Linked DNA regions of Homo sapiens: all the other regions are linked to region 5. The links are contacts of gene promoters, found by promoter capture Hi-C in blood cells and fetal thymus (Javierre and others, 2016). All regions are on one chromosome and are shown on one strand. Each heading gives the region's core, a stretch centred on a gene start or on the middle of the fragment in contact. The rest is flanking DNA. Distances are from core to core; before and after follow the strand shown. Region 1 overlaps CEP192 (centrosomal protein 192). Region 2 overlaps CEP192 (centrosomal protein 192). Region 3 overlaps AFG3L2 (AFG3 like matrix AAA peptidase subunit 2). Region 4 overlaps CEP192 (centrosomal protein 192). Region 5 holds the start of CEP76 (centrosomal protein 76). Region 6 holds the start of PRELID3A (PRELI domain containing 3A). Region 7 has its middle 14 kb from the start of AFG3L2.

What was found. The method cuts DNA at HindIII sites, captures the fragments that hold promoters and counts their contacts. A CHiCAGO score of 5 or more calls a contact.
Region 1: a fragment that was not itself captured here is called in contact with the fragment with the promoter of CEP76 in region 5 in 2 of 17 cell types (total CD8 T cells and M1 macrophages); the score reaches 5.4 in total CD8 T cells.
Region 2: a fragment that was not itself captured here is called in contact with the fragment with the promoter of CEP76 in region 5 in 2 of 17 cell types (erythroblasts and M1 macrophages); the score reaches 5.7 in erythroblasts.
Region 3: a fragment that was not itself captured here is called in contact with the fragment with the promoter of CEP76 in region 5 in 1 of 17 cell types (M1 macrophages); the score reaches 5.1 in M1 macrophages.
Region 4: a contact is called between a fragment that was not itself captured here and the fragment with the promoter of CEP76 in region 5, in 3 of 17 cell types (non-activated CD4 T cells, total CD8 T cells and monocytes). The highest score is 6.2, in non-activated CD4 T cells.
Region 6: a contact is called between the fragment with the promoter of PRELID3A here and the fragment with the promoter of CEP76 in region 5, in 4 of 17 cell types (endothelial precursors, M0 macrophages, M1 macrophages and 1 more). The highest score is 7.5, in endothelial precursors.
Region 7: a fragment that was not itself captured here is called in contact with the fragment with the promoter of CEP76 in region 5 in 16 of 17 cell types (endothelial precursors, M1 macrophages, M0 macrophages and 13 more); the score reaches 18.4 in endothelial precursors.

The regions. Positions count from the first base shown.
Region 1 is chr18:13,032,824-13,036,109 of GRCh38, forward strand. The region is part of intron 11 of CEP192 (centrosomal protein 192); the gene reads left to right. Among named protein-coding and RNA genes, the nearest start is that of CEP192, 43 kb to the left of the region's middle. The HindIII fragment of the contact is 5,250 bases long and covers 1-3,286 here.
Region 2 is chr18:13,051,743-13,055,282 of GRCh38, forward strand. CEP192 (centrosomal protein 192) reads left to right here. Exons shown (of 45, transcript NM_032142.4): 18 at 1,177-1,348. Among named protein-coding and RNA genes, the nearest start is that of CEP192, 62 kb to the left of the region's middle. RefSeq lists a silencer at 265-334. The HindIII fragment of the contact is 2,400 bases long and covers 612-3,011 here.
Region 3 is chr18:12,341,479-12,345,127 of GRCh38, forward strand. AFG3L2 (AFG3 like matrix AAA peptidase subunit 2) reads right to left here. Exons shown (of 17, transcript NM_006796.3): 14 at 2,654-2,769. It overlaps LOC107985154 (a long non-coding RNA gene), which reads left to right. Exons shown (of 2, transcript XR_002958227.2): 2 at 2,571-2,845. Among named protein-coding and RNA genes, the nearest start is that of AFG3L2, 34 kb to the right of the region's middle. The HindIII fragment of the contact is 9,965 bases long and covers 1-3,649 here.
Region 4 is chr18:12,996,548-13,000,133 of GRCh38, forward strand. It overlaps CEP192 (centrosomal protein 192), which reads left to right. Exons shown (of 45, transcript NM_032142.4): 2 at 2,874-3,041. The coding sequence starts at 2,878. Among named protein-coding and RNA genes, the nearest start is that of CEP192, 7.0 kb to the left of the region's middle. The HindIII fragment of the contact is 2,917 bases long and covers 1-2,916 here.
Region 5 is chr18:12,701,326-12,704,645 of GRCh38, forward strand. CEP76 (centrosomal protein 76) reads right to left here and starts at 1,398. Exons shown (of 12, transcript NM_024899.4): 1 at 1,161-1,398. The coding sequence starts at 1,223. PSMG2 (proteasome assembly chaperone 2) reads left to right here and starts at 1,717. Exons shown (of 7, transcript NM_020232.5): 1 at 1,717-1,839. The coding sequence starts at 1,783. RefSeq lists enhancers at 543-1,440, 726-1,025, 1,036-1,085. The HindIII fragment of the contact is 2,487 bases long and covers 1-2,403 here.
Region 6 is chr18:12,406,537-12,410,056 of GRCh38, forward strand. PRELID3A (PRELI domain containing 3A) reads left to right here and starts at 1,393. Exons shown (of 7, transcript NM_001142405.2): 1 at 1,393-1,471. The coding sequence starts at 1,440. RefSeq lists enhancers at 792-1,453, 1,454-2,113, 1,971-2,220 and a silencer at 1,191-1,770. The HindIII fragment of the contact is 9,540 bases long and covers 1-3,303 here.
Region 7 is chr18:12,389,510-12,393,102 of GRCh38, forward strand. No RefSeq gene overlaps it. Among named protein-coding and RNA genes, the nearest start is that of AFG3L2, 14 kb to the left of the region's middle. The HindIII fragment of the contact is 739 bases long and covers 1,068-1,806 here.

The DNA.
Region 1 (3,286 bases), core at 164-2,663, 330 kb after region 5:
CTGGAATATTAGGTTGCAATGAGAATGAGTGATGTGAAGTTACATGCAACAACATGGATGAATCTCAGGAACATGTGGAATGACGTAAAGCTGACTAAGAACACACACTCTATAGTTCTATTTGTATACAGCTGGGCAATGCACTCCTGCAGAGCCAGCCACAGGGCAGTGGCTACATGTGGATGGGCAGGTAGCATGGGAAGCAGGCTCGGGTGGTTTGGGTACTGGCAGTATTATGCTTCTTAATCTGTGCTGTTGGCTATGCAGATGTGTTCAGATTGTGAAAATTCCTTGAGCTGTACACTTCACCTCTCTATCGTAAAAAGTTTTTAAAAATTAGCAAACTGAGAATAAAAGATTTGCAATTCATATTACAGGTTTAAAGCCCATTCCCCTAATATATAAACAGTTCCAATAAACAATAAGAAAAAGACCAACTACCCCAAAATTGGAAACAATTTATAGAAAAAGAAATAAAAACGATCGTTAAATGTACAACAAAAAATGTTCATTTTTAATCATGGAAAGAAATGCAGTGTAAATCCACCCAGTCATAGTATTTTTCAGTTATTTCCTTGGTAGTGATCCAAAAGTTTGGTGATAAAACTGTCTTAGCAAAGATGTGAGGGACACAGGTATGCTAGTCCATTCTTGGCACCGCGTCTACCTATAATGACATTGCAGCATCTAGCAAAGTTACGCATGTACTATCCTGTAACCGAGCAGTTCTGCTTCTGGGAATTTATTCTTCAGATACACTTGCATAAATGATACATGGTGTATGTGCAGGCTCATTACTTGCAGCATTGTCTGTGATAACAACGTTAGAAGCAATGTAGATGGACAAAATAGGGTATAAATTAAGGTGCATCCATACAAGGAGGTACCCTGTGGCTATACAGAATGGTAAAGGAGCTCTTTAGTTACTCAAATGGAATGATCACTGGAATAAATTAAAGATAAAGTCCACCTCAAAGCACATAAAGTATTCTAACATTTGTGTAGAAAGGTAGGAGAGGGGAGGATGTACATACAGATATTTGTAAATACATACAATGGAAAGATAAAACAAGATACTGACTACAGGAATGTCTAGTTACTTGAACTCAGAAATCAAAAATTCAGATAGACATTTCAGAAATATTTTAGCTGTTGGTTGCTTCTGGGGGTGTGGGAAACTAGGGTCAGGGATGGGGAGATAGTTTTCAGTATATACCCTTGTAAGTCTTTGGTTAACTTTGAAAAGCTCTTTATTGTGGTGTCATAAATACACCTTTTAAATTTGAATTATTAGATGTATTACTATTAAAAAATAAAAAATGATAACGGAAAGATTGAATGAAACCATCCTTGTGCTTAGGGAATGAATACTAGTCTGGTTGGAAAGGATGACTAGCATGGGTGGGGAGGAAAGGGAAACGGGGAGATGGAAAGCTATTAAAAAGGTTGGTGGACAGAAAACCTGATGGGTGCTGGGAAGGATGGACTAGATCCAGGGAAATAGGGGTGGAGGTAGCATTAATGAAATGGGAGCCTTTTTACTGAAAAGGAGAAAGGAACTTTAAAAATGTAATAAAAGGAGATATTCAGAAAAGGAAGGTTGGAAAAAAGGGTGTAATCTTGTAACGTCCAAGTCATTTTAAATGAAAATTTGCCTACTTATAAACTTTATTCAGAACAGTTCCTTAAGAGAGCCTGCCTCGGCCGGGCGCAGTGGCTTACGCCTGTAATCCCAGCACTTTGGGAGGCCAAGGTGGGTGGATCACCAGGTCAGGAGATCGAGACCATCCTGGCTAACATGGTGAAACCCTGTCTCTACTAAAAAAAAAAAAAATACAAAAAATTAGCTGGGTGTGGTGGTGGGCACCTGTAGTCCCAGCTACTCAGGAGGGGGCTGAGGCAGGAGAATGGCGTGAACCCAGAAGGCAGAGCTTGCAGTGAGCCGAGATTGCACCACTGCCCTCCAGACTAGGCGACAGAGCAAAACTCTGTCTCATAAAAAAAAAAAAAAAAAAGCCTGCCTCCTCTTCTTCCCCATGCCTGCCTTCCTCCTTGCCGACAGCTCAGCTCCATCTATTCAAGGTGCTGCATTGCTGCCGCTTATGACCTGAGAGTTCGACAGTGGGGGAAACACAAATGGGCTGCTTCCACGTTTGGCCTCGGAAGCATTCAGTACAAGAGGATTGTTGTTTTAGGTATGCCAAAGAATTGGCATAGATTCTCATAAAAAGTGAAGTTCTGCTTTCTTATTGGCTGTGATTGATTTCTGATGAGTAGACAAGATAACAGTGTTAATATAGATGTTTCTTTGATGAATCCCTTATAGTTCAGAGAAAAAGCATTTAGGAATATAATAAATCCTATTTTGAGCTGTTCGGTCAATTATTTAAAAACCAGGTGATATTTAACTCCTCAAAGTAAATTAAGTTTCTTTTGGGTTACCTTCTGTATTAGTTTGTTTTTATGCTGCTGATAAAGACATACCCGAAACTGGGAACAAAAAGAGGTTTGCTTGGACTTACAGTTCCACGTGGCTAGGGAAGCCTCAGAATCATGGTGGGAGGCAAAAGGCACCTCTTACATGGCGGCAGCAAGAGAAAAAATGAGGAAGAAGCAAAAGTGGAAACCTCTGATAAACCCATCAGATCTCGTGAGACTTATTCACTATCATGAGAATAGCATGGGAAAGACCGGCCTCCATGTTTCAGTTATCTCCCCCTGGGTCCCTCCCACAACATTTGAGAATTCTGGGAGATAACAATTCAAGTTGAGATTTGGGTGGAGACACAGCCAAACCATATTACCCTCTTTTGGGCCGAGTTTCCTACTTCCCTTCTCTTGGCTGTCAGATTTGGTTGGTTGCTCCTTTCATCTTTTAGGGCAGTGGTTTTTAACTTAGCTTGAGTCATAGATTCCACAATGAATCTTCATAGAAATATATGGAATGTATGATTTTGCATGTAATTTTGAGGGCTTCATGGTTCTCCTGATGCTCATTCCTAGGTTCTGTGCTGTAGGTTAAGAATGTGTTTTTTCTTAGGCTGGGCATTTTGGCTTATGCCTGTAATCCTAGCCGTTTGGGAAGCCAAGGTGAGTGAATTGCTTGAGCCCAGGAGTTTGAGACCAGGATGGGCAACATGGCAAAACCCCATCTCTAGCAAAAAATACAAAAATTAGCTGAGGGTGGTGGCACACGCTTGTAGGCCCAGCTTTTGGGGAAGCTGAGGCAGGAGAATCGCTTGAGCCCAGGAGGTAGAGGTTGCAGTGAGCCAAGATTGTACCACTG
Region 2 (3,540 bases), core at 562-3,061, 350 kb after region 5:
CCGTGTTAAACGGGATGGTCTTGATCTCCTGACCTCTTGATCCACCCTCCTCGGCCTCCCAAAGTGCTGGGATTACAGGCGTGAGCCAACGCACCCAGCCAATTTGGGACTTTTTAAAAGTTCAGAATTCAAATTTGAATTTTCTGTGTACGTCCATTGCCTAGCTGAGTATTCTGAACTTTGTACAAAAAAGAAAGATGGTGGAATCCATCCAAGTGAAGGGCTGAATTCAAGCTAACTGGCAGAGCATAGGTGTGGAGACTGTTTCCAAATGTGGCTTGACACTTATTTCCTATCCCCTGTGCTCTTTTGCACTGTGACTTTGCCGCTTCCCCTCAAGAGGTGCAGTCCGTTTCCTGCTCCTTGCATCTCGGCTGGCAGCCCTGTGAAAGGTGCTTAATGAACAGAATAATGAGGAAGTAACCCTGGTGTTTGTGCAGATAGATGTGAGACTCACTATTTGTCACTTCCTGATCTTTTCATTTTACGTTGTGTAGCAGGGACATCTTTCTGAACCAAGGCTAGAACAGCATGCTTTTGAATGGCTGCATAGTGTTGTATTGCATGTTTGTGCTCTAATTTCTGTAGCTCAGTTCCTCCTGTCTGATTTAAGCTTTCCTACTTTTTGTCCACAGTGATGTGGACATGTCCTTTTTGTGAAGTCTTTATATTTATCATTAATTTTTTTTCTCAGGATAAATTCCTAAATGTAGAATATCTGAGTCAAGAGGCCTTTGATATGTACTGCTTAATTGCTCAACCAAAAGTTGTACCACTTGATAGTCCCACAGTGGTGTGTGACTGTTCCCATTTCTTTGCACTTATCTGCATGATTTTTTTTCCTCTTTGCTCGTTGAGGGTTGGAATCTTCTGTTCATTTCTCTATATCAGATACTTAGCAGATTTTTATAGCATGAATAGCTAATTGCTAATAATGAATTGCTGTGTGTCTTTATATGGTATTTATTAATGAAAATGCCACAATACATTTTACACTAGTTTAACAGATGCTTCATTCAATGGGAATATTCTTTACAATTTTAGATAATTAAGTGTAAACATTGAATTTGTGGTTGAGTCATTTGCAAGATTGTAGGCCCATAGGAATGGTTTTTTGCTAATGTAGATAGTTGAAGGACTGGAGAACTCCAGGTGTGAGCTACTCTTCTCTTTCAGGTGTGCGTTAGAGTCCTTTGGTTCAGCAGCTCAGCAGCAGCAGCCTCCCTGTGAGCAGGAGTTGTCTCCCTTGGTGTGCTCGCCTGCTGGGGTGAGCAGGCTGACGTATGTGTCTGAACCAGAGAGCTCCTATCCTACCACAGCCACAGATGATGCCCTGGAGGACCGCAAGGTGGGCAGCCACTTGGATTATTTATTACTAAGGCTTTCAACTCTTAAAAGTGTTAACAGATGTTTGATTCAGACTACAGTTCAAGCCTATATAACTTCAGTGTTGCTCTTTTATCTTTAAAATGATTTTTGTATTTGTGTGCACATATTAAATACCTACTCATGCTGGTAGACACAGAGGTACAAACATTTTAGGATCTGCCCTTGAAGAGCTCTGTCTGGTGAGGCACGCTGTGTAATGAAGTGCATCATGCTGCGCGCATACTATGGGGACTCAGAAGGTGGTGGTTGGAAGTCTGACTGCCTTTGCTTCAGCAAAGGTTTCTGCAGGGATAAATACACTGAAGCCACACCGTGCAGGACTGCTAGGAGTTAGGCAGCGGGGAAGCAGAGTTAACACATGGGGAGGTGGAGAGTTGTAAGATACAAACTGCATCTGGGCACTCCAGGAAGTTTAGAACGGCCACAGTGAATCATGTCAATAGGGAGAAGTGTATGAGGCTAGAAGAGGGGGGACCAAACCGGGAAGGGTGCTGGGTTTAAAATACGGGAGTTTGAAGGCTTTTTAGCAGGTCACTGTCATGATCTGTTTTGATTTTGTTTTGTTTTTGTATTTTTTAGAGACGATCTCGCTCTGTCACCCAGGCTGGAGTATGGTGGCACGATCACAGCTCACTACAGCCTGGGACCGCTGGTCTCAAGGGATCCTCCTGCCTCAGCCTCCCAAGTAGCTGGGACTACAGGTGTGCACTACCACACCTGGCTAATTTTTCATTTTTTTTTGTAGAAACAGCTTCTTGCCATGTTGCTCAGGCTGGTCTTGTACTCCTGGGCTCAGGTGTTCCTTCTGCCTCGGCCTCTCAAGTAGCTGGGACTACAGGTGCCTACCACCACATCTGGCTAATTAAAACAAATTTTTTTAGAGATGGGGTCTTGCTATGTTGCCAGAGCTGGTCTTGAACTCCTGGCCTCAAGCGATCTTCCTGCCTTGGCCTCCCAAAGTGGTGGGATTACAGGCATGAGCCACCAAGCCCAGGCTGGTTTGATGTTTTAAAAGCTCACTCCAACAGCAATGAGGAAGGAGGGAACAGTAGGAGCAAAATTAAAATAGGAGATTTGACATGAGGCCACTGTAGTGGTTCAGGCAAGAGACAGTGCACGCTTGGGCCAAGACAGTAGCAGTGGGAATAGAATAGAAGATCAGAGAGATTTATGTGGGAGAAGCTAGTATTAGCTATTTTCGTGTGTGGACGTTGTGGATGTGACAGTGTGCAGTTTTTTGATGAGCTAACTGTGACTGCTGTGGGGATGCTGCATAGTCTTCCTCCACCAAGCCACTGAAGAGTTACTGAATACACAGCGTAGTGTGAGAGCATTACACCCCTTTCTTTGAAAGCTGTCTTTTTCATGTTGTTGTTAGATACTGAGTCTGCATGTTCTTAGCATAGTGGTTGAGAGCTGGGTTATGGTGTCAGATAACTTATCTTCTGCTGCCTCCTCAGACAGATTACTAAACCTCCCTCAACCTGTTTCTTCATCTGTAAGGAGGAATAGTATGTGAGGGCAGTGCTTGTCACCTAGTAAGTCACCACTGGATACATATTATTTGTTATTATTAATTGGCAAATAATATAGTCTTTGTTTCTTAGTGTCTTTATTTCTGAAGCTTTGGCCAGGAGAAATTTATAAACCAAGTACCAAAGCAATCAGTGAAGGTTACGTCTATCTAGTCTGTAAATTTCAGCTGGTCCATCCTGCAGAGCTGCAGATGTCACTCCTCAGATTATGCATTATGTACAAACAAATGAGTGTGGACATTTACCAGGACTGTTAACTTCATGCTTCATAGAGCCACACAAGTTTAGAAATGGGAGAGGGCTTAGAACACATAAAAGTTAACATCTTTGGCCGGGTGTGGTGGCTCATACCTGTAATCCCAGCACTTTGGGAGGCTGAGGCAGGCGGATCACCTGAGGTCAGGAGTTTAAGACCAGCCTGGCCAACATGGTGAAACCCTGTCTCTACTAAAAATACAAAAAATTAGCTGGGCATGATAGCGGGTGCCTGTAATCCCAGCTACTTGGGAGGCTGAGGCAGGAAAATGGCTTGAACCAGGGAGGCGAAGGTTGCAGTGAGCCGAGATTGCGCCATTGCACTCCAACCTGGGCAACAAGAGCGAGACTCTGTCTCAAA
Region 3 (3,649 bases), core at 1,131-3,630, 360 kb before region 5:
CCTATGGATTAGTTTAGCTTCTAGAATTGCAAATAAATGAAATTGTATGGCACATACTTCATTGTTTGGCCTCTTTCCCTGTTTTTGAGATCCATAGATACTGCTGTATGTATTAATAATCATTCATTTTTACTGCTGTGTGGCACTCCACTGCTACAAACATACCAAATATCCATTTCATTCTTGATGGAAGTCAGGGTTATTTTCAGTTTATTGATATTATACATAAAGTAGTAACAGTCCTTGCATGGACATAGGTTTTTATTTCTCTTGGGGAAATAAAAGTTGAATTGTTTGGTCACATGGAAGTGTTCGTCTACCTTAATAAGAAACTGCCAAACTGTTTTCCAAAACAATGGTACCATTTTACATTCCCTATTTTTGTTTTTGGCAGAGCTTCATTCTGTCCCCCAGGCTGGAGTGCAGTGGCACGACTGCTGCTTACTGTAGCCTCCGCCTCTTGGGTTCAAGTGATCCTCCCCATCTCCAGTGATTCTCCTGCCTCAGTCTCCTGAGTAGCTGGGATTATAGGCGTTCACCATCATGTCTGGCTAATTTTTCTATTTTTAGTAGAGACAGGTTTCGCCACGTTAGCCAGGCTGGTCTCAAACTCCTAACCTCAAGTGATCCGCCTGCCTCGGCGTCCCAAAGTGCTGGGATTACAGGCATGAGCCACTGTACCCGGCCCCATTTTACATTCCTATCAATAACGTGTGAGCGTTTCAACTGCTCCATATCCTTATCAACAATGAAGACTGTCTCTTCTTCATTTTAACCATTCTAGCAAGTATGTTCAGGTAGCTCATGGGTGAATTTGCATGTCCCTGATAAATAATGATACCCTGTGTGTGCTTAATGCCCACTCATATACCTTCTGGGAAATGCATGTTTAAATCTTTCGCCCATTGTTTTACTGGGTTGTTTTCTTATTATTGAGTTCTAAGAGTTCTTTACAGGTTCTAGAAATAAGTCCTTTGTCCTGTATATGTACTGCATGTATTTTTGGAGGGCGTGGCTTGCCTTTTTATTTTCTTAACTGTCTTTCAAAGAAAGAGAGTTTGAAATTTTGATGAGATCCCACCTATCAACGTTTTCTTTTGTGGCTCATGCTTTTTGTGTCCCAAGAAATTTTTGCATGGTCAAGGCCACAGAGATTTTTCCCTGTATTTTCTCCTAGAAGTTTGATGGTTTTAGTTCTTATGACCTGTTTCAAATAATTTTTTGCATATGATGCAAGGGTTAACGTTCACCATTTTTCCTGTGAATACTCTGTTGCCAGAACCACCTGTAGATAAGACAATTCCTCCCCCTTGAATTATCCTGGTACCTCTGTGAACCAAAAGTTTGTGGTTCACTTTCCGGGCTCCATTCCACCCCACTGGCCTGCGTGCCAGTCCTCTTACCAGCACTACACTCTCATCACTGTAGCTGCACAGTCTTAATACTGGGATGAGTAACTTACTGTTTTGGCTACTCTTACTCATTTGTATTTCCATATCGGTTTTAGATTCAGCTTCTCAATTTCCACAAAAAAAAAAAATCTGCTATAATTACCAGAGATTGCACTGAAATTATCAATTAGTTTTGGGAGAACTGATGTAACACTCCATGAGCAAAGTCCACCTCTATTTTTATTTAGGGCTTGTTATCAATGTGCATGTCCTACAAATATTTTCTTAAATTTATTCCTCCATATTTCGAGTTTTTAGATGCTACTGAAATTGCTAATGAAATTGAATTTTTAAAATTTCATTTTCCAATTGTTTATTGCTAATACACAGAAATACAATTGGTCTTTGTATACTGACCTTGAATTCTTCAACCTTGCTAACTTTACTTATTAGTTCTAGTGGGTTCTCTGTGGGTTCCTTAGGATGTTTTATGGACACTCTAATGTTGTCTTCTCTATGGTTCCCTTGCTTCAGGGGACCCCCACACCCCTGGCCCGCCTCAATTCCCAGCAGCCCTGATACCCATCGCAAGGCAGGGAGGCAGCTGCTTTCTGTCATCTGTGCTGCAGCAGTTCGGGAAATGCCTCAGTTGAAAAGCAAAAAACTTAAAAATCTCACATGGTTCCCCCGTCTTTCAGGGGTAGATTTCTCTTTGGTCTCTGCTTACCCTTTTGCCAGGTTCTCTGGGATTGCCACTGTGCATGTGTAGTTTAGTTGTCGGCCTGAGATTTGGGCAGTTCCTGCTCAGATTCGGGCCTCACCACTTGGTAGTTTTCTTGCTTCTGGGATTTTCCTGTTAAATTTCCAGTATTCTTTAAGTCCTGGACTATCTCCTCTACCACCTCAGGATAATAAAGACTATGTCTCATACCACTGTAGTGTGGAGATTATGAAAAACCCTTTGGCAAGAAAGCCACAGGCTCCCAGTTCAAACCCACTGCAACTGCTGCTTTATAGGAGCAAACTCTCCAGCTCTCGCCTGCTTTTGGACACTCTGTGGTCCCTTTAAATAATTTTCTGTCCAAATTTTATATTTATCTATGGGACGGTTTGTGCAACTATGGTTACCAGAAGTTACCAGAAGTTTTGGCTAAAGCCTTGTTTCTTTCTCCTTTGCAGGAGTGTAGCTTGCTTCTTGAGTGACTGCAGCGAGCATCTGCTCACCCATGCACTGGCTGCCTAGTGCAGCTACCCTGCTTCACCTTTAAAAGCGGGTCTGCGTGCTCCAGATACCAGCCGGCAACCGCATGGCCTGCTTCGTGGTATGCCACAGTCTTCTTCTCCTCAGGCTGCAGAACCTGCGTTTTCTTCTCTAAGCCTAACAAAATAACAACAAAAAAACCCAAGCCATTGTTACAGTGACACTGACATTAAAAGACAGTTATACAGTGCTATACATTGCCTTACCTAAAATGGGGTTTGGAGACTGAGCTGCCTATCACAATCCAAAAATTCCTAATCAAGGCCAGGCGCAGTGGCTCATGCCTGTAATCCCAGCACTTTGGGAGGCTGAGGTGGTCCAATCACTTGAGGTGAGGAGTTCGAGACCAGCCTGGCCAACATGGTGAAACCCCGTCTCTACTAAAAATACAAAATTAGCCAGGCGTCGTGGTGAGCGCCTGTACTCCCAGCTGCTAGGGAGGCTGGGGCAGGAGAATCACTTGAACCCAGGAGGCGGAGGTTGCAGTGAACTGAGATCATGCCGCTGCACTCCAGCCTGGGCTACAGAGTAAGAATCCGTCTCAAAAAAAAAAAAAATTAAATTAAGTTAAAAATTTTTTTAAAAAATTAAATAGAATTCCCAATCAAGGTCAGAATAAAAGCAAAAGGTCAGGTTCAAAATACAACTACAGCAAAAATGCACTCACTCCCCCATCCCCAGGCCTGCTTTCACCCTAACTCTCTCACTTTTAAGCCACACACCCTGTGTTTTGGGAAACAAATAGAAATGTAAAATAAAATTCAGCATTAAGGTCATTTTAAAACACGCAAAATTACAGAAACCAAAACTCTGGAAAGGTCCTCATTGCATAGTCTAGGTATTCAGAATTATCAAATACTGGGCACGCGAAGATGGCTGCCATAAGACACTACCTGCTGTCTGTTCTGCTGGAAGGCAGAAGAGAGTCTGAGAAAGCAGGCAGCCAGTTCAACACCCGGAGCTACCTAGGTGGAGCCAGCCAGGCTGATGCTGGCGC
Region 4 (3,586 bases), core at 208-2,707, 300 kb after region 5:
GCTTTGAAATTGAAGGCAATCACCCAGAGAGGGTGAGTTGATGGAAGAAGTTGAAGATCAAGCCCTGGAGGCTTCCACTCTGTGGAGGTCTAGGAGATAAGGAGGAACTGGCCAAGGAGAAGGGAAAGCAGCAGCTTGGTGGAGTTGGAGGAGAACCAGACAGCTGTGTCTGAGAAATGAAGCCAAGAAAGTATTTCCCCAAGGAAGGAGTAATCACCTGAATGTTAGGCTACAGAAGAAGGACCGGAGGTAGATTATAGTATGCTACGGCTTGGCAACAGGGAGATCAGGGCTGATGCTGACAAGCATTTTTTTGGTGGTGTGGTGGGATGAAGGCCAGAGTGGGGTGCGTTCAGGAGAGGATGGGAGTGGAACTGGATGCCAGTCATGATTCCTCTGGAAGCCTGTGATAAAGGGAGCATGGATAGGTGTGGTGGCAGTTCAGGGGGATAATGGGGGTGTGAGGTAGAGGAAGGCTTTTTTTAAAAGGTGGGAGAAATAACAGCATGCCCAGCGTGGGAGGGCTTGCACAGACAGAAGACTCGATCATGTTATGGAAGGGGGCCGATTGGTAGAGTGGTTGTCAGTGCAGTGAGGGGTTGGGATCGAGTGCAAAGTGAAGAGGTGGGCTTCAGACAGGGGCATGGACACTTCATAAACTGTTGTGGGATAATTTAGGAATCAGACCGAGGGGTTGAGGAGGATATATTATTTAGGTGCACCGGCCCAGTCGGATTAACATCCAAAAAGTCTGAGCCCTGAACAAGTCTGAGCCCTGAACAAAGAGTTAAGTTACCTTTTAAGGATTTCGTGGGGCGGCAGGGGGGAATCTGTGCAGGAGGAAGCATATTACAGAAGCAAGAAACAAAGACAATTATTCAATTAATTGAGACATGCATTATATCATTTCTTACTTTCCAAGGAAAAAATGTGTTTTATGGCTTGAGTTTATCTGTCTAGTGACCTTGCAGCTGCACAGCTAGAGAAACAGGGTCTTCACAATGCCTGGGAAAGGAGGAGAGATAAGGCTTACTAGCCACAGAAAAACAGGCAGATAATTTTTAAAGGGCTCCAGCTCTTTCTCTTTCTCAGGGGGAATTGGGTTTTCTTACATAGAACTGAGTTTCTGCTTACACATTCTTTAATTTCTTTTAACTCCTATTCCAAAACAAGTAAGTTCTTCTTATTTTTGGGGGGGATAGAGTCTCGCTCCATCACCCAGGCTGAAGTACAGGGGCGCAATCTCGGCTCACTGCAACCTCCACCTCGCAGATTTAGGTGATTCTCCTGCCTTAGCCTCCCAAATAGCTGGGATTACAGGTGCCCGCCATGACGCCCAGCTAGTTTTTGTATTTTTAGTAGAGACGAGGTTTTACCACGTTGGCCAGGCTGGTCTTGAACTCCTGAACTCAAGTGATTCGCCTGCCTCAGCCTCCCAAAATGCTGGGATTACAGACATGAGCCATCGCACCTGGCCTCATAATCTCTTTAGTGGTCATAAAACTTCTTCTTTTTCTTTTTATATTTTATAATTAGTCCATACTGTCTAAAATCTATGCTTTAATCCAATTTGTCATTGATCCTAGTATACTCCTTTATTACTGAAGTAGCTCTTTGAATAGTCTTCCAGGTTTTTAAGTCCTCTCCCTTCCTGTATAATAGGTTGATTGTGTCAGTTCTTTGTTGGTTGCAGAGTACAGTTCAAACTTTCCAACACACCGTTTCAGACTTTTAGAATCTGGCTCCATTCTGTTATTCTAGCTTCGTTTACTGTGTTATTTTGTTCACCTGCTGCCAAAATGCATTGGAGTATTTGCTACTGCCAGCATAGACCTAGCACTTAGAGTGGATTTTCGAGTCAGACCTGGGTTTGAATCTTACTAATTGCAACCTTGGGAAAATTGAGCTAATTTAGTCTCTCAGTTTGTTTCTTCACCTGTAAAATGGGATAATACCTACATTGTAAGATTTTCTGTGGATTCAGTGAGCTAAGTTAGTAGATATGCAATAAAATTTAATTCTTTTCCTTCTTGGCTCATGTTTATCATCCTAAATAAACTCTCTCATCCCATACTCTGCCTATAAAAGTTCTTCTCAGTCTTCAAGGCGCATTGCCAATATCCTCTCATTTTTTTTAGCTTTTCCTGATTATTTATCTTTTTATCCTTCTGCCATTATTTCCTTTACTGATTTCCATGCAGTGTGTATATGATACGTACTCTGAAAAATTGTTGAGACTAGCTAACATCTTCAGAGCACCGTGGTCAGGTTCTCTAGTAATAGCATAGGTTTTGTGCTGGTGTTTTCCAGATTTAGTCATTTGGGTACCCCTTTTACCACTTTTACCTTGTCCATGTGCCAACTATACTTTAACTGAAAATTGTTCTTTGAATGGGTTCACTTTTTAATTCAGTCTTAACAACACTGAGATCCGGGCTAGATTTTTGCTGGTTGTACTTTTTCTGTTCCGTATTAGAATGAGTATGTAACTACCAAACTTTTAAATATGTCCTAAAATCATTTGTATATACCATCAGTGTTATGCCATCTTTGCTTTCTTTACTAGATAAGTTTGTAGTAATTCATTTTCCTAGCTACACCAAGCAAAGGGCAAATTAAAATGTGTTGTATTGCATTATTATGTTAATTATAAGAAGGTAAGTTTAATGTTTAAGGTTTCTATTCTCATCTATAAAGTAGCAAAGTATTCTGAGATTTATTTTACCTCAGACTATTTGCCTATTTCCCCCTTACTAATGCTAAAAAAAGGATTTTTTTCCTAAGATTTATTAGTTTTCTAAGACAATGCTTTTAATCATTTAAAAACATTTTATAGTAATATGTGACCTATAGAAATACTTTTGTTATTGCAGTGAGATGGAAGATTTTCGAGGTATAGCAGAAGAATCATTTCCAAGCTTTCTCACCAATTCATTATTTGGTAACAGTGGGATTTTGGAAAATGTCACTCTTTCTTCAAATCTTGGCTTGCCTGTTGCTGTTTCTACACTTGCTAGGGATAGATCCAGCACTGATAACAGGTAAGATTTGTTTGAGCAGATTTTTTTCCAGGTCCATAAAGCCTATAGCATGCTGATATTTATGTTCTGTTTCTCAGTCAAGCTTGAGCTTTTTGTTTTATCTATGAGGGGGATGGCCAAATATGTGAAATGAATATAGAAAAGACAGAATTTACTGTCTTTTTCCCCATTGCTTTGCCTTTTCAGTGGGTAGGTTTGGGTGGGTTTGGGATTTGAGCACCAGTTACCTATTTCGGTCTATTTTTTTTTTTTTTTTTTGTCTATAGTGTTTTGGATTTGTATTAGTTCAGTCACACTAATGGCTAGTAATGTAAAACAAGTTGTGTTAGCGAAGTTCAAAGGCAAATTAATCATAAGGTTATAGGAGTACCTCTTGACATCAAGGGGAGGAGTGCAGAGCTTTGCTGCAAGAAGGGACAGGAATTGAGATTTAGGAAGCCATCAGGACTTGGGTTTTTGTCATCCCACTCTATTTCTCTCTGTATAACTCATTGTCTTCTCTCTTTTTTTTTTTTTTTTTTTTTTTTTTTGCTAATTAAAAAAAT
Region 5 (3,320 bases), core at 148-2,647:
CAAACAACACTCAACCAAAAGGAATCTTCTGAGAGGGAGTATAGTATAATCAGAAGAACACGGACTGGGAGTAGGCAGATCAAAGTATGATCTTATTACTTTCATACTTTGATCTGCCTAATGATAAGGGAATCTTACCAGCTTTCAACTTAGTAGATGTGTAACCTCAAGCCAACTTATTTACCCTTTATAAATCTGTTTCGTCACCGATAAGAATGGAAAAACCTAGTGTAGTGCCCTCTCACGATAGTGTTGTGAGGATTAAAGATACTAGACAGCACAAAGCCTGGCACACAAGGGCACCATAAATGGTCGCTTTTATCACTTCAGCATCTTGCACTCAGTCGAGCGAGCGCTGCAGAAACTGGAGGTTCTTCTGGAGCTCCGAAATATTAACAAATTCCGTCATTACAAACCCTTTAGTAACTTCTCTTCCATGACTTATTTGAGAATTGCTGATTGAAGCTCCTGGTTCAACTTCGCTGATACCCACATGTTTCAGCGGTAAAGAAACCCTGATATCTGCCGGGCGCGGAGGCTCACGCCTGTAATCCCAGCACTTTAGGAGGCCGAGGCGGCCGGATCACGAAGTCAGGAGTTCGGGACCAGCCACACCAACATGGTGAAACCGTCTCTACTAAAAATACAAAAATTAGCCGAGCGTGGTGGCGCGCGCCTGTAATCCCAGCTACTCGGGAGGCTGAGGCGGAGAATCGCTTAAACCTGGGAGGCGGAGGTTGCAGTGAGCCGAGATCGTGCCACTGCACTCCAGCCTGGGCAACAGAGAGACTCCGTCTCAAGAAAGAAAAAAAACCTGATATCTTACAGCAGAATATAAACCTCCAAATACAACTTACACTCGATCCGACTTCCAGAAGTCGCTCGCTAAGCGCTTCATTCTCACGGCCGTCCTAAAACGCCAAGACCGCTCGTTCTATCGCCCCAGACTCTTGCTAGCACCTGCTCGGCTCGTTTTCTTTCTCGGAGACGAGGACGCTCTCCTGCCTCAAACTCAAAGCTCTGCCTACTCTGCGTTGCGCACCCCACAATCCTCGCTACAGTCCCGGCAAGCAGATGCCGCTGTCGGCCCGGGGCCGCCGGGCAGGAGGGAAAGGTTATGGGTCGGCCCGGCGGTCTCTCCCAGCACCCGCGACTCTCACCTTGCTCAGCTGCTGGTGGATGAGCTGCTTCAGCTCGGAGGCTTTCTCCGGAGGCAGCGACATGCTGGCAGCCGGCGTCTCCCCGCCGCTTCTCCCCGCCTCAGATGCCCTAACTGCGCGGCCCCGGCCGGGCCAGGGAGCGTTAGGAGCGACTGGAGCACAAAGCGCCGCAGCCGTTCGCCTAGCGCAGCTCCCGGGGGACGCAACGCCGCGTCAGGCCGGGGGCTGACCTGGAAATGAGGCCCCGGCGGCGGCGGCGCCAACTGTTTTCAAACAGTGGCGGACAAACAGGGCTTGGGGCTGGCCCGCACGCTGCCTGATCGTTTCCGCCCGCCGCTCCACCTCCCCGCGGGCCCCGCACCCCGAGACCTCAGCGCACCCCATCGCCTTGCTTGCCAGGGTCTCCGAAAGCGCTGCTGGCCCCTCTTCGCGGCCACCCGGCGGCCTCTTTCCGCCCTCTGAACCGGCAGTTAGCTGGACGGGCCTCAAGGGCCCGGCGCCCAGGGACTCAAAGGACCCTCCCGCGCCCCGCGAGGCTCCGGGGTCTCGGGCTTCCGCCTTCTTGCTGCCCTCGTTCTTGCCAGGGCCGCGGTTAGTCCCTGCTGGCCACCCCACTGCGACCATGTTCGTTCCCTGCGGGGAGTCGGCCCCCGACCTTGCCGGCTTCACCCTCCTAATGGTGAGTCTCCATTTGCGCTCGGGGCTGCCGCCTCCCGAGGCCCCTGCGGTGTCGCCACCCCGACGCGGGGTGTTTGGCGGTGCCTTGGGAGAAATAGGGCACTAGTTTCTATTTCATGTTTTCGGCCGGAAAAAACAGGGAGGTTGTAGCCGGAGGCAGCCGTCCAAACAGAACCTTTGTCGGCTGTAAAACCAAACGTAGTCAAGTCTACAATTTGTAGTCTCTGTTTCCTGTAAAACGTGATGTGTTCGTACGTTCTAGATACACTGTACTTATGTTTTGCAGGGCATCCTTCAGTTTTATCCTAGAAAGTCTTTCTACGACTAGTTTTAGAATTAGTCTTAAGCTAGCATATTATCGTTGTTAACCGGAGAACTACTGATAGGGCAATAAACATTAACTCTTGCCGGTAGTTAGCGCAGTTTTATCGCTCTTTATATTCATTCATTGTTTTAATAAAGTCTGTTATGTGCGAGTATTAGAATAAGACTAGGTGCGTGCCCTCAAAGAATTTACACTGTAGTTGGAAACATGTAATCTAAGAGCAATAAATGCTAGGCTAGAAGCTTGAAAGGGTATAGAAAGGTCCTGAGATAATTGGGAGGGGAGGGACAGATGGCTTGTTAAGAAAGGCTTTATAGAGAAAGTAGTATGCAAAAGATGGAGGGCCCGTGGGCTGGGAGTAGGGGAAAGTAGGCGTTTCAGAAAGATGGATGTCTAAAACAGAGTCAGTAAGCAGGGGGACTTGAAGACTGCCAAGAATTTGGAATGACACATTGAGAGAGAATAGGCTGTAGGCCCTGTGAACCCAGAAGGCACCATTGGAAAATGCACTGTTTGGAGTGGTATAAGGCTGGAGAGAGCTGGAAGTGTCATCCTTATTCATTACATATAAAACACACAGCCCCAGAGAAGAGTGTTTCAAAAAGGAGGGAGTGGCCATGTCAAAAGTAGCCCAGAGATGTGTAAGGTGAAGAAAGTGTATGTTTGGATTTAGCGACATGTTAATGATGGTCACCTGGACAAACAGTTACCAGTGAAGTGGTGAAGAGGAAAGCCATATTGGAGTGGGTTGAATGAATGATAGAAAACAAGTTAAAGATTTGGGTTGTATAATATATATTCAGTCATTAATTCAGAGACAGGCATGATGGCTCATGCCTGTAATCCCAGCACTTTAGAAGGCCGAGTACAGGAGGATCGCTTGAGCTCAGGAGTTCAAGACCAGCCTGGGCGACATAGTGATACCTCATCTCTACAAAAAAATAAATAAAAATTAGCCAGGTGTGGTTTCCTGCACCTGTATCTCAGCTACTCGGGAAGCTGAGGTGGGAGGATCACTTGAGCCCAGGAAGCAGAGGCTGCAGTGAGCTGAAATCGTGCCACTGCACTCCAGCCTGGGCGACAGAGTGAGACCCTGTCTCAAAAAACTTTTTTTTAATAAGAGATAAAGTTTCTGCTTATGTTTTCGTGGACGACTT
Region 6 (3,520 bases), core at 143-2,642, 290 kb before region 5:
ACGGACGCCCCAGGGGCGCCAGGCGCTGCTCTAGGCTGAGACTCAGCCGACTCAGACAAGGGCCCTGCCCTCTCGCCCTATCTCATCCTGGAGAAGAGTACCCTCTTCTTAGAACAAGCATCTCACTTCCGTGCACTTCAACTTCGTTTGTGGCAGTGCAGGGTACTTTGCAAAGCTAAAAAGTAGTTTATGCGAAAGGGAGACTCTTTTTCCTTAGAGGATTTGCCAAGTTGTAATCACAAATTCTTTTTGAGATACACGTACATTTTTTTAAAGCTAAATAAGATTTCCCCCCAGTTTTATAACTCAAGAATGTATTTTCTCAAGGACTTGGGAGTCATCTCTTTGAAATGTCATCCCCGTCTCCCAGTTTTGTGGGAGGGTAGGAGCCCAGCTACCAGAGAGCACCTGGCTTCAAATTGTAAACCTACCTCCTGTCATAAAGGTATGAAAATTCATTTTTCCTTTGGATAAAGGCAATTAGCAAACGCAAATGGCCACTGCATTTACCAATGGCCACTCCATCATCAGGCGAATTTAGGATGAACTCTGCGACAAATGGTGTAGTGGAGTCCCCTCCCCGGAGGGCTGTCTCGTTTACCTCGGGAGCATGCGTGGGGTAGGTTGCATCCTCCCGGCTGTTTGATACAGGCTGAGATTTCTGTCTTTGCAGCCTATTTGGCGGATTGCTTGTGATGCACATCACATGCTGGTTTTGTTTTGTTTTGTTTTGTTTTGTTTTGTTTTGTTTGAGACGGAGTCTCGCTCTGTTGCCCAGGCTGGAGTGCAGTGGCGGGATCTCGGCTCACTGCAAGCTCCGCCTCCCGGGTTCACGCCATTCTCCTGCCTCAGCCTCCCGAGCAGCTGGTACTACAGGCGCCCGCCACCACGCCCGGCTAATTTTTTGTATTTTTAGTAGAGACGGGGTTTCACCGTGTTAGCCAGGATGGTCTTGATCTCCTGACCTCGTGATCCGCCCGCCTCGGCCTCCCAAAGTGCTGGGATTACAGGCGTGAGCCACCGCGCCCGGCCTCACATGCTGGTTTAATGTTTGTTCAAGACCCAAACTGCAGTGGAGTTTTGAGGGTTGGCAGGTTTGTTTTTCATCACACGTCCCCGACAGTACAAACCGGCGTAGCTGGACAGGGCCTTGGGAGAATTTGGACAGTGGGAGTAAGGACGAGCGTCGCCTCCTACGCCCGCGGCATCTGCAGCAAGCGCGCATCGCGCACCCCAGGGTAGCAGCGCAGGTCTGGGGCTGCGCCACAGCCGCGCCCGCAGAGCTATTTTTAGCCGCTGCAGCCAGCCTAGCCACCAGACGGGGTGGGCGGCATCCAAGGGCGCCCCGCCCATCGAGGCCCCGCCCACGCCGCGCCCGGAGCCGCGCGGCCCGAAGCACCCGGCCCGGATCGCAGAGCCCGCGCCCTGCGCCGGCGGCAATGAAGATCTGGAGCTCGGAGCACGTGTTTGGGTGAGGCCGGGCTGAGGGCCGCGGTGGGGCCGTCCAGACGCCGGCTCCTGCTCCCGAGCCCGGCTGGAGCGGTCCAGGAAAGGCCGGACCTCACAGCGGGCCTCGCGGAGATCCCCGCCCCGCGCCGGCCGTTCCCAGACCGCAACTTCGGCGTCCCGGAGAGGGCACGCGCGCTTCCCCGGGACCGCGGTCTGGGCGAGGCTCTGCGCCGGGTACGGCCTCTCCCCCGGCGTGCGCAGGGGCCTGGCTGCAGGCACAGAGGCCCCGCTGGTGGTCGACAGCCAGGGCGGGGGCAGCCGGAGCGGGGGCGGCCGGGGCGGGGGCGGCCGGAGCCGGGGGGGCGGCCGGGGGCCTGGCGCTCGCTGCTCTCCTTGGGGTCGGGAGCAGGGCAGGGGAGAGGCCTGCAAGCTGGCGCCTTTGCTGAGATTGTCATAAACCTTCCGCGCGTTTCACGGAGGGCCCACGGCGGGCTGTGAGCTCTGGAGGAAGCTAAAGGGGCAGAAGGCATTTCGGGGGCCCTGGCTCTGAACTCACTTGTAGGCATGGAAGGCCTCCAAGCTAGCGTGGAAAACCTCGAACTGTTTAAAAATGCTCCCCCGGCACACGGATGGAAGTGGAGGTCATTATCTTAAGTGAAGCCAGGCCCAGAAAGACAAGTATCGCATGTTCCCACTCCTAAGTGGGTGCTTAAGAATGTGTTCACATGGATGTGGAGAGTGGAACGTCAGATGATGGAGACTCTGAAGGGTGAGGGGGTGGGTGCAGGGAGGATAATGAGAATTGCTTAATGGGTGCAAGACACCTTCCCGGGTAATGCATACCCTAGAAGTCCTGACTTGACCACTACGAAATTTATGCATGTAACGAAATTGCACATATACTCCATAGAATTGTGCAAATAAAAAGAAGAAAAAAGTGCCCTCCTAACCTAAGTGGTATCTTTTCCTTAAGTCAGTGATCTGTGACACACTGAAATTATTCTTTAATGTTTATTTACAGCAACAAAGATTTTTTAATTATCTGACCTCACTTAAGCATTAAATATTTTATTTTGGGGGGAAAAAAAGTACTGCGTGGAAGGAAATTGTCATCCTTTGACTCTTTTTATTTATTTTTTTCGAGACAGAGTCTCATTCTGTCACCCAGGCTGGGTTTTTTTTTTTTTTTTTTTTTTTTTGAGACATAGGCTCGCTGGGTCACCCAGGTTGGAGTGCAATGGCGCGATCTTGGCTCACTGTAACCTCCCCCTCCTGGGTTCAAGTGATTCTCGTGCCTCAGCCTCCTGAGTAGCTGGGACTACAGGTGTGGGCCATCACGCCCGGCTAATTTTTGTATTTTTAGTAGAAACAGGGTTTCGCCATGTTGGCCAGGCTGGTCTCGAGCTCCTGACCTCAGGTGATCCACCCGCCTCGGCCTCCCAAAGTGCTGGGATTATAGGTGTGAGCCACCGTGACTGGCCTGACTTTAAACATGTAAAATTATAATAAAAATATATCAAGTGGTTTCAAAACCTCTGAAATTATTTTTCATGAAGTCTTTAGACTTGATGGGATCTAATTTTTTGTATGGCTTGCAGTGTTTCTCAAGTGGGTTTCCATCAGCAACAAGGATGGGGGCATCACTGAGCCGTCTGGATGCTGTGGACAGTTAAGTCATTGCATACCAGGAGTGCCAGGTGGTTGGGGCTCAGTTTTCTCATGGAATGGCCGAGGTCTGCCCTAGAGGTTTGTGAAATGTCTGTGGACAAGCACAAATGAATAGCTAGCTGTGAAAAATCACAGTTGATGCTTTTGAAAATTGTTGCAGCTGCTAACTCCCATTTATTTTTTTTAAGCTTTACCGAAGGATACTTTACATACCATAAAATTATACACATTTTAAGTGTATAATTCATTAAGTTTTGCTAAGTATGACCATCACACACACAGTCCAGTCTTAGAACACTTCTGTCCTCCTGCAGAGGTGCCCCATGCTCATTAGCTTCACATTTTACCCCATTTTCACCCCTGCCCCAGGCAACCAGGAATCTTTTCTGTTTCTATGAATTTG
Region 7 (3,593 bases), core at 187-2,686, 310 kb before region 5:
AGGCTGAGGCCGGGTGGATCACAAGGTCAGGAGTTCAAGACCAGCCTGGCCAAGATGATGAAATCCGGCCTCTACTAAAAATACAAAAATTAGCCACGCATGGCCAGGCGCGGTGGCTCACGCCTGTAATCCCAGCACTTTGAGAGGCCAAGGCGGGTGGATCACGAGGTCAGGAGATTGAGACCATCCTGGCTGACACAGTGAAACCCTGTCTCTACTAAAAATACAAAAAATTAGCCGGGCGTGGTGGCGGGTGCCTGTAGTCCCAGCCACTCTGGAGGCTGAGGCAGGAGAATGGCATGAACTCGGGAGGCGGAGCTTGCAGTGAGCCGAGATCGCACCACTGCACTCCAGCCTGGGTGACAGAGCGAGACTCCATCTCAAAAAAAAAAATTAAAAATTAAAAATTAGCTCAGTGTGCTGGTACAGGCCTGTAGTTCAAGCTACTCAGGAGGCTGAGGCAGGAGGATTGCCTGAGCCCAGAATTCAAGGCTGCAGTGACCTATGATCACACCATTGCACTCCAGCCTAGGTGACAGAACAAGACTCTGTCTTTCAAAATAAAAAAAAAGTTCAGTATAAATTTTTTTTTCATCAGTGTGGACAGAAACAAAGTTACAAAATGAAAAGTAAAAGTATCTTCATTTCTCATGTTCACATCTTAAAGGTAACTTTCTTTCTTTCTTTCTTTCTTTTTTTTTTTTTTTTTGAGACGGAGTCTCACTGTGTTGCCCAGGCTGGAGTGCAGTGGCCTGATCTCAGCTTACTGCAAGCTTTGCCTCGCAGATTTCAAGCTATTCTCCTGCCTCGGCCTCCCAAGTAGCTGGAATTACAGGTGCTCACCACCATGCCTGGCTAATTTTTTTGTATTTTTAGTAGAGACGGGGTTTCACTGTGTTAGCCAGGATGGTTTCGATCTCCTGACCTCGTGATCCACGCACCTCAGCCTCCCAAAGTGCTGGGATTACAGGCGTGAGCCACCGCGCCCGGACTTTTTTTTTTTTTTTTGACACAGTCTCACTCTGTCGCCCAGGCTGGAGTGCAGTGGCTGATCTCGGCTTACTGCAAGCTTTGCCTCCCAGATTTCAAGCTATTCTCCTGCCTTGGCCTCCCGAGTAGCTGGGATTACAGGCACCTGCCACCATGCCCGGCTAATTTTTGTATTTTTAGTGTTTCACTATGTTGACCAGGCTGGTCTCTAACTCCTGACCTCAGGTGATCCACCTGCCTTGGCCTCCCAAAGTGCTGTGATTATAGGCATGAGCCATGGTGCCTGGCCTTTAAAGGTAAATTTCTAGGTAGTTTTTTCTGTGTGTGTGTGTCCATACATTTTATATGTATTTGCAAGCATATAGAACTAATTTTTAGGCCAGGTGTGGTGGCTGATGCCTGTAATCCCAGCACTTTGGAAATCCAAGGCTGGTGAATTGCTTGAGGCCAGGAGTTTGAGACCAGCCTGGCCAACATGGTAAAACCCAGCCTCTACTGAAAATATAGAAAATTAGCCGGGTGTGGTAGCATGCGCTTGTAGTCCCAGCTACAAGGGAAGCTGAGGCCTGAGAACCACTTCAACCCGGGAAGCAGAGGTTGCAGTTAGCCGAGATGGTGCCACTGCACTCCAGCCTAGGTGACAGAGTAAGACTCTGTCTCAAAACAAACAAACAAAAAAAAAAAAACTTATTTTTACATGAACGAACGTGTACTTTATGCATCTTGATTTTTTCTTTTGTTTAACATATATTTTTGTATGTTAATAACATATAGTTCCCCCAAGGCATTAATAAACTCTATTGTATTCTCTTGTAAAGCTTTAATAGTTTTCTCACCAAGCGTCATTTAGACTAATTCTCATTTCTTTTTATTTCAGAAGCCACCGTGAGCTTTTTTTTTTGAGACAGGGTCTTGCTCTGTCACCCAGACTGGAGTGCAGTGGCACGATCATAGCTCACTGTAGCCTTGAATGCCCAGGCTCAAGCCTCAACTTTCCAAATAGCTGTGACTACAGGCCTGCGCCACCACAGCTGGCTAATTTTTAAATTTTTTGTAACGTTGGAGTTTCACTATACTGCTGAGGCTGGTCTTGAACTCCTGGCTTCAAGTGATCCTCCCATCTTGGCCTCCTAAAGTGCTGGGATTACAGGCATGAGCCCACGCACCCAGCCAATTATTCTTATTGGTACATGCATATATACACATGTGCCAGCTTCCATTCAGAGGATGGTTTCCTAGTAGAGAGATTGCCTGGTAAACATTAGTTTTTAGAAAATAATTTGTGTTTTGTGGCTAGGGCTTGGGCTCGCTACCCAGAGTTGTGCTGCATACGGTTCCCCACTAGGCGTCAGGAGAGCCCTATACATCTCTAGACAACGCCGTGCATTTCCAGAAAACCTTCAGATGTGTTCACAAGGCTGGTCTGGATTTTTCAAAAAATAATTTTTCTATTGTTCATAGTTCATCTCCACGAACAACCTAATGCTGTGTTTTCTATAAAGTGAAGCTGACATAATCTTTTCCAGTGGTGGTCTTGGTTTGTGCTACTGTTCCTGGCAATGGGCCTCAGGTAAAGGAATAGAAAAGACACAATGCCCAGTTGCTATTTTCCAGATGATAATGAGTAAAACCATGAATGATGTCACTGATGCCAGGGTGCTACCAATGCACGTTTCATGAATGACAACTGCAGAACATTTAGAAGATTCTTTATCACCCTTTTACTAGGTAGTGATCAAATATTTTTCTAAAAGAGTTGACCACAATGGTATACTCAAATCATAAAGTTTCTAGATTTTTCCCAATTGTGTCTTCTTGTAAAAAAATGTGATGATTGCTTTGGTACACCAAACTCCTTGTCATAAGCCATCTTTTGAGTACAGTACCGCAATCCCAGAAGGCATTATGTGAGAAGGCATTTGAAAGCTGAGAAGGAAATGGTTTGTTAGGAACCTAGTGAGAAGCTCTGTAAGCTAGATTGGATAGAATTAAAGTACCCAGAAATAGAAGTAAGGAGGAGAACATAAGATGTGTATTGAAAAGACTTACTTCAGCAATTTTTTTTTTTTTTTTTGAGACGGAGTTTTTTGAGACAGAGTTTCGGTCTCAGCTCACTGCAACCTCCGCCTCCTGGGTTCAAATGATTCTCCTGCCTCAGCCTCCCAAGTAGCTGGGATTACAGGCACCCACCACCACGCTCGGCTAATTTTTTGTATTTTTATTAGAGACGGGGTTTCACCATGTTGGCCAGGCTGCTCTCGAACTCCTGACCTCAGGTGATCCACATGCCTCAGCCTCCCAAAGTGCTGGGATTACAGGCATGAGCCACCACATCTGGCCTTACTTCAGCAATTCTATGTAGGTGTTGAAAAGAGGAAACATACCACAGAAAGTAAAAGGGATGTGCTCCTGTTTTTTCAGAGACAGAGTCTCACTTGTTGGCCAGGCTGCAGTGCAGTGGTGTGATCATAGCTCACCATAACCTTGAACTCCTGGGCTCAAGTGATCCTCCCACCTCAGACTCCTGAGCATCTGGGACAACATGCTCACAGCACCACACCGAGCTAATTGTTCTATTTAAAACAATTTTTTTTTTTTTTTGG